Linked DNA regions of Homo sapiens: region 2 is linked to region 1. Evidence: promoter capture Hi-C in 16 types of primary human blood cells and fetal thymus (Javierre and others, 2016). All regions are on one chromosome and are shown on one strand. Each heading gives the region's core, a stretch centred on a gene start or on the middle of the fragment in contact. The rest is flanking DNA. Distances are from core to core; before and after follow the strand shown.

Region 1 (3,889 bases), core at 578-3,077:
CTGAGAAGTACAAGAGCCGGGGAGTTCTTTTGTAATCATTTCCCGTGTATGTTCTGTACAAGTGGATGTGGCTTTGAAATTTACAGTCTATTATAGTTTGATATTTCAATCCTGAAATGTTAACATCCTTTAACATCCTTTTACACATACACACATAACTTTGTTTTGTATGCTTTGTATGTTTTACATAATGGGATCATCTTATACCTGCCTTTTAACTTTTCTTTTTCTTTTTCTTTTTCTTTTTCTTTTAATTTTTTTGAGATAGAGTTTTGCTCTGTGGCCCAGGCTGGATTGCAGTGGCATGATCTGGGCTCACTGCAACCTCTGCCTCCTATGTGCATATAATTCTTCTGCCTCAGCCTCTCATGCAGCTGGGACTACAGGTGCATGCCACCACGCCTGGCTAATTTTTGTATTTTTAGTAGAGACAGGGTTTCACCATGTTGACCAGGCTGATCTTGAACTCCTGACCTCAAGTGATCCACCCAACTCAGCCTTCCAAAGTGCTGAGATTACAGGCGTTAGCCACCGCACACGGCTATATATATATATAATATTATTATATAAATATAATTATCTTAATATATAAATATATATTATTATCTTAATATATATAATATATATTATTATCTTAATATATATAATATATTATTATCTTAATATATATTATTATCTTAATATATAATTATATAATAATATACAATATATAATATATATTATATATATAATTGTATATATAATATAATATATAATATATATTATAATATTAATATCATAATATTATATATGATATATAAATATAATAATATATTAATATATATTAAGATAATAATATTAATATATTAATTATATAATTAATATATTATATATAATATAAGATAATTATAATATATAATTGATAATATTGATATATTAATTAATATTATATCTCAATATATAGATATATTATAATTATATTATATAATTAATGTATTAATTAATATTATTATCTTAATATATATTAATATAATATTATTATATTTATATTATATATTATATATTTATATATTAATATAATATTATTATATTTATATTATATATTATATATTTATATATTAATATATAATGTTATATATTATATAATATATAATATTATATATTAATATATAATATTATATATTATATAATATATAAAATTATTATATATTAATATATAATGTTATATATTATATAATATATAAAATATTATATATTATATCATATTATATATATAATTTCATTTAAACTTGTATCTTAGAAATTCTTATCAGTAAGCGTACGTGATTTCATTTATTTATTATTCTTTTGGATACTGGACATAATCAGGTGGCCCCAATTCTTTACACTGGCAGCAAAGATAAGCAAATTCTTCCAGCAGGCCAAATTTGACCCCGCACTTGATGAGCGTGGTGGACACAGAGGGTTTTTTAATAGCATAGGAATGTTTTTTGCTTCCCACCGGACCCACTAGCCTCTAGTGCCACCGATTAATATTACCTTCCTTGAATCAGGAGGAAACCATTTGTGACTTCTCATATGTAAGATCTTCTAAGGGCAGAAACGCAATTGTCTTTGTATTCACTTCCCCGCCCACCCACACCCCTTCCATGGAGAGCCTGCAGCCAAGCTCAAGCTTTCAAAAAGGCGTGAGCTAATTCAATCATCCTTGCCGCTTTTTTGCTCCTCCAGGCTGTAGAGGGCGACAAAAACCGCGGAGGCGCATTGGGGTGGGGGGTGTCTACTGAAGGCCGCTCCCGACGTGCGCGTCTTTACGTAGACGTCGGGGGCGCAGCCGCGCTGTGCGCGGTGACTGGCGGCTGCACTGGCGGCAGCTGGAGGTGTAATAGTGCGGGTAGTGGGTTTGGAGAAGTTCCGAGGCGGCGGTGGCGCCGGTCAGGACAAGGATAGCGGAACCGGGCCCTGGGCTTGTCGCTCACCATGCCGACAGTAGAGGAGCTTTACCGCAATTATGGCATCCTGGCCGATGCCACGGAGCAAGTGGGCCAGGTGAGTTGAGTCCCCGGGCGGCCTGCAGGGCCTGGCGCTCCGCGGCCTTTCGAAAGCGCTTCCCGCCGCACTCCCCGGGCCGAGCGGGGGCTGCGGCTTCATCCTCCCGGGGCCTCCTAGCCTCCTCAGGCCGTCTCGTCGGGGTGGGCCTCTCTGGGAGTGTAGACTCTGGTTTCACCAGGGAGACCGCGGTCCCCAGGGTTCCAGGCTTCCTTGCCTCCCTTGCCCAGCCTTTTCTCACCGTGGCGTAACCTAACTCAGCCCGTTCAGGCTCACGTTAATTCTTCTCACGGAGCTTTTCTCTACAGGATTCTCTTAAGCCTTTCTCCTTTTCGGTGGAGCTCAGTGCTTCCAAGATTAGATCGGGAGTTTTCTTCATGAGGTCAAGATGTGTTTTTTTTGGGGGGGAGGCAAAATTCTGCTACTAATTGAAGAAGAGTGTTTAGGAGACAGAAGTTTGTGAGAAACAGAAGAGGGACTCTTTGGTCCAGACTTTGATGAGAGCTCACGGTTTCATTTATTCAGTGCATTTTTTTGAGTGCCGAGCGCTGGAGATACAGATGGAAAGGTCCGCGCTCTCCCAGAATGTACAGTTAGGAGGGAGTGTAGTAAGAAAGATAGGCATTGTGAGGCCCGGCTTGGTGGCTCACGCCTGTAATCCGAGCACTTTGGGAGGCCGAGGCGGGCGGATCACGAGGTCAGGAGTTCGAGACCAGCCTGACCCACATGGTGAAACCCTGTCTCTACTAAAAATACAAAAATTAGCCGGGCGTGGTGACACGCGCTTGTAATCCTAGCTACTCAGGAGGCTGAGGTGGGAGGATTGCTTGAACCCGGGAGGCAGAGGTTGCGGTGAGCCGAGATCGCTTCACTGCACTCCAGCCTGGGAGACAAAGCAAGACCCCGTCTCAAAAAAAAAAAAAAAGGTTTTTTTTAAAAATTTATTCTTTTTAATGAAACATGTTTGAAGAAAATAAAACAGGGCTGGGCGAAGGAGAGTGTGAGTGCGCAGCTCTGAATGGAGTTGTCTGGAAGAGCTCTCTTAACGATGCTTGCCCCCGATACACAGTTTCTCAGCAGTGTTGAATTATCCATACAAGTCATTTGTTCCCTGTATGAGTTTTCAAGTACTGGAGTACATTGAACTTGATAAGTGGTTGGGTATGTGTGTTCTTGGGAAAAGAACCAGGCTCTCCTGGAGGTAACCTTGATCATTGTTTTAGAAATCCCACACCATAGCTTTTCAGCGCTTAGAACTTTGTGATTTTTCTGCTTACGCATCCCTTCTTGGAGAAAGTGGAAGATTCTAGTCTATTAACAGTCGTGGGAGTACCTTTCCCGTCCCCTTTTCTTAACATAATTCAAATAGGACTTTTCTGAGCTGAACGAAAAAAAAAAAATTTCATGTTGGAGATTTATTGTAGCTTAATCTAGAATTAAGAATATACCAGTTTGAAATAGCAAATGATTTTTTTTCCTTCATTCCCTGTCAGTAGGGAATTTCACTTTTATCAGTAAGAAATGTATACGGATGTTCTGCTGTACATGTGGATAGAGTGTGTAGGTCGGTTGTGAAGGAGGAATATTCTGTTCATTAAGAAGGTAAAAACTGCCAGGCACGGTGGCTCACGCCTGTAATCCCAATTCTTTAAGGGGCGTGGATGGGCAGATCAGTTGAGATCAGGAGTTCGAGACCAGCCTGGCCAACATGGTGAACCCCCATCTCTACTAAAAATACAAAAATTAGCCAGGCGTGGTGGCATGCGCCTGAAGTCCCAGCTATTTGGGAGGCTGAGGCAGGACAATTGCTTGAACCCGGAGGGTGGAGGTTCCTGTGAGCTGATATCGGGCCACTGCACTC
Region 2 (3,889 bases), core at 762-3,261, 390 kb after region 1:
TGTTCTTTTTTATGGAGCAGATAAATATTCATTGTGTGGTGATTATATGCTAGGCCCTGTGCTGGGTATGAGAATATAGTGATGAGCAAGAAAGCCATGGTCTCAAAGTTCTGATATCCGGAATCTACAAGCAAGTTAAACAAATTTATAAGAAAAAAAATCATCAAAAAGTGGGCAAAGGATATGAACAGACACTTCTCAAAAAGACATTTATGTGGCCAAGAAACATATGAAAAAAGCGCAACATCACTGATCTTTAGAGAAATGCAAATCAAAACCACAGTGGAATATCATCTCATGCCAGCCAGAATGGCGATTATTAAAAAGTCAAGAAACGATAGATGCTGGTGAGGCTGTGGAGAAATAGGAACACTTTTACACTGTTAGTGGGACTCTAAATTAGTTCAACCATTGTGGAAGACAGTGTGGCAGTTCCTCAAGGATCTAGAACCAGAAATACCATGTGAGCAATCCCATTACTAGGTATATACCCAAAGGAATATAAATCATTCTACTATAAAGACACATGGACACATATGTTGAATGCAGCACTATTTACAATAGCGAAGACATGGAACCAACTCAAATGCCCATCAGTGACAGACTGGATAAAGAAAATGTGGTACATACACACCATGGAATACTATGCAACCAAAAAAGGAATGAGATCATGTCCTTTACAGGGACATGGATGAAACTGGAAGTCATCATCCTCAGCAAACTAACATAGGAACAGAGGACCAAACACCACATGTTCTCACCCATAAGTGAGAGTTGAACAATGAGAACACGTGGACACAGAGAGGGGAACAACACACACCAGGACTTGTTGCGGGGGGTGGGAGGCAAGGGGGAGGGGAAGCATTAGGACAAATAGCTAATGCATATGTGGCTTAAAACCTAGATGATGTGTTGATAGGTACAGCAAACTACCATGGCACATGTATACTTATGTAAGAAACTTTCACATTCTGCACACATATCCCAGAACTTGAAATAAAACAAACAAACAAAAAGAAAGCCATGGTCTCTATCTCTGCTGGTCTGGCAGAAGACACAGACATTATATAAGCAGATCCAAAAAGTGTTACAGGAGCCGGCTATGGGGGCACTAACCTGGTTCAGGGGCTTAAGGAAGGTTTTCTGGAAGAAGCAACATTTAATCCAAGATGTGGAAGAAAAGTAGAAGATGATGATGTTCATAATGGTAATAAGATGTAATGTTTATTAAAAAGCTTACCATGTACCAGGTACTTTTCTAAATATCTTAATTGACTCATTTAATCTGCACATAATGTAATAAGGTAGATCCTATTAATATCTCTGTTTTAGTAAAAGAGAGCTAAAATATAGAGAGGTCAAGCAGTTTACCCAAAGTCACATAGTAAGTGGAGGAGCACCTGGGCTTTGAACTGAAGTCTGTCTCCTCAATTTCCTCTCTTAGCCACTATGCTAAACGGCATTGATAAATTAGAGATGGGCAGGTGAGGGGTGTTGGAGGACAGGGGACTATTTCAAGCAGTGAGAACACCTTGGGTGAAGACCTTGAGGAAACTGAGACCATTTCAGGAAGTTTTTCTAAAAGAAGGTTGAGAGAGCTGGGGCTGAGAATCCTGAGAGGAGAGAGGCAATAGATAAGACTAGAGAAATGTAGGCAGGGGGCCAGATCCCACAGGCCCTTGAGTCTACAGTAAGAGTTTGTTTATCCTAAGGACAGTGGGAAGTCGTTGAAAGATTTTAAGCAGTAGAGTGTCATGATCAAGTTTGTACTTAGGACAGTTTACTCTGGCATTTTGGAGAATGGATGTGGAGGTAGCAACTCAGGAGGTTGGGAGACCAGCAGGAGACTGGTGATGGTAAACCAGGCATTGGGTGGTGGTGGCTTGGATTAAGGAAACTGAGACAGGGACTGGGAGAGGGAGTCAGACAAGAAAGAGATAGGAGGTAAAGTTATGGGCCCTTGTCATAAACTTATGATTGTGGGGCTGAGGGAGACAGCAGAGTCCAAAAGGACTGTGAGGGGTCTGAGCTCTGGGCACTGACATAAAACACTAAGAGAGATCAGGCTTTGGGAAGAAAATAATGAGGTTGATTTCTGACAGGTTCTATGTGGATATCAGGCAGTCTTACTGTAGATTCGCACCAAGCTGAGCCTAAGTCCTTTGGTCTAGCCATCATTTAAGTTGTTCTAAATTAGATGCTATATTTTATAGTCTACAGAAAAGTGTGGTGCCTCAGCAATGTAATAGTTTAGGAAAAGGAAAATGTTATTTTTTAATAAGTTGAGTGTATTCCATGTAGCACATTGTGCTATAGTTGGGTCAATCCGTTTGCTATTTTCTCTTTGGGCAGAAAGTATAGTGGAAAGAACGGGTACAGGATTATCACAGGACCTGAGTTCATATCTCATCTTCCCACCTTTGGCACTTATTAGTGTGGAATCTTTGATCAGCTATTCTGTTTTTTTCCATCTATCAAATGTGTTCAAAAATCCCCACTTTGTCTAAGATATTAAGAGTCTTTGGAAGCGTGGTAGAAAGTACAAAGCATTATGCACATACAAGGCACTGGGCCTTTTCCCCTCTTCACCTTTCAATTAGAAACCTAGAAATAGAATTGCCGTATGAGTTGATCAGCTTGTGTGAGGTTCACATTGCTTCAAGATTTATTTTGGGGTCTGTTGCAACTTTGTTGTGATCAACACCTGAGTCTCTTGATGTGATTATCTAATATATATCAATTTTAGAACATACCTAAAACAGATTTTTTAAAGCAATTTTTGTTAATGTAAGCTTGTTTCTAAATTAAAAGTTAAACTAATGTAACCACTAATTGTATTTTAAAGAGATGCCTTAAGCTTCAACTTTATTTTTAACATATACAAAAGGTATGTATGGTTAGTTACTACAGTGGATTAAAGATATAGTTAAATTATTGCTAGTGAAGTATCATTTCAACTATGGTATAATTGGAAGACTTTCATAGCTTGACATAACTGTTTAAAGTCTCATTATTTTATTATAAGCATTATTATAAGAGATTATTATAAGTTCCTGTCATTTCTCACTCAATACCCCACTGTTCCCATCTCATGCTAAAAGATATTTAGAGTTCTTTTTCTTTAGCTTAAGGCTTTTTATTATTCTCTTTTTTCATTTTTTCCTCTGGGGAAGTGAGAAAGGAATGTTCTCATTTTTATTTAAGCTAGATTCTGATGAATTATGATGTTAATGAGATAATAGTACCTTTTAGATATCTGTAGCAAAAGTATCATCTTTGAAATGAGGAAATATTTTCCAGAATATACTTTGAATCAATTTTTAAAAAATACTAAGGAGTATATATCCAAATCTTCTAGTAATTTTAGCTCCAAAATATGTATATTTGAAAATTGTGAATTACTTTTTGTTTTTTTCAAATTGTTTGTTAATGTTACTGCAAATGGAGACATTTATTTTTCTCTTCTCTTGTGTTCCTATTTTAGTTTGGGTTCTCCCAAAATCAGATGTTGAGACACATTCAAGTTCAGTTTATTTGAAAGGTGATCCCAAGAAACACCAGTAGGGAGGAGATAGAGAAGGGAATTCAGCCAATTTGGCCAGAAATCTAATAATCCGATCAAAAAATGGGCAGAAGATTTGAATAGACATTTCTCAGGACATACAAATGACAAACAGGCATATGAAAAAGGTGCTCAACATCACTGATCATCAGAGAAATGCAAGTCAAAACCACAGTGAGATATCATCTTACCCAGTTATGGCTTATATCTACAGGACATTATCAAGCACTGTGGCCCACTGGAGCTTTAGCCCACACAATAACTCTGGAGCTAGAGCAGAACTCAAGTTTCAGGGTTATCTTATCTGAGGGGCTGGGAAGTTTGGGT

What was found. The method cuts DNA at HindIII sites, captures the fragments that hold promoters and counts their contacts. A CHiCAGO score of 5 or more calls a contact.
Region 2: a fragment that was not itself captured here is called in contact with the fragment with the promoter of API5 in region 1 in 1 of 17 cell types (naive B cells); the score reaches 5.3 in naive B cells.

The regions. Positions count from the first base shown.
Region 1 is chr11:43,310,169-43,314,057 of GRCh38, forward strand. It overlaps API5 (apoptosis inhibitor 5), which reads left to right and starts at 1,828. Exons shown (of 14, transcript NM_001142930.2): 1 at 1,828-2,028. The coding sequence starts at 1,960. RefSeq lists an enhancer at 1,581-2,356. The HindIII fragment of the contact is 11,672 bases long and covers 1,653-3,889 here.
Region 2 is chr11:43,696,179-43,700,067 of GRCh38, forward strand. The region is part of intron 1 of HSD17B12 (hydroxysteroid 17-beta dehydrogenase 12); the gene reads left to right. Among named protein-coding and RNA genes, the nearest start is that of HSD17B12, 17 kb to the left of the region's middle. The HindIII fragment of the contact is 1,557 bases long and covers 1,234-2,790 here.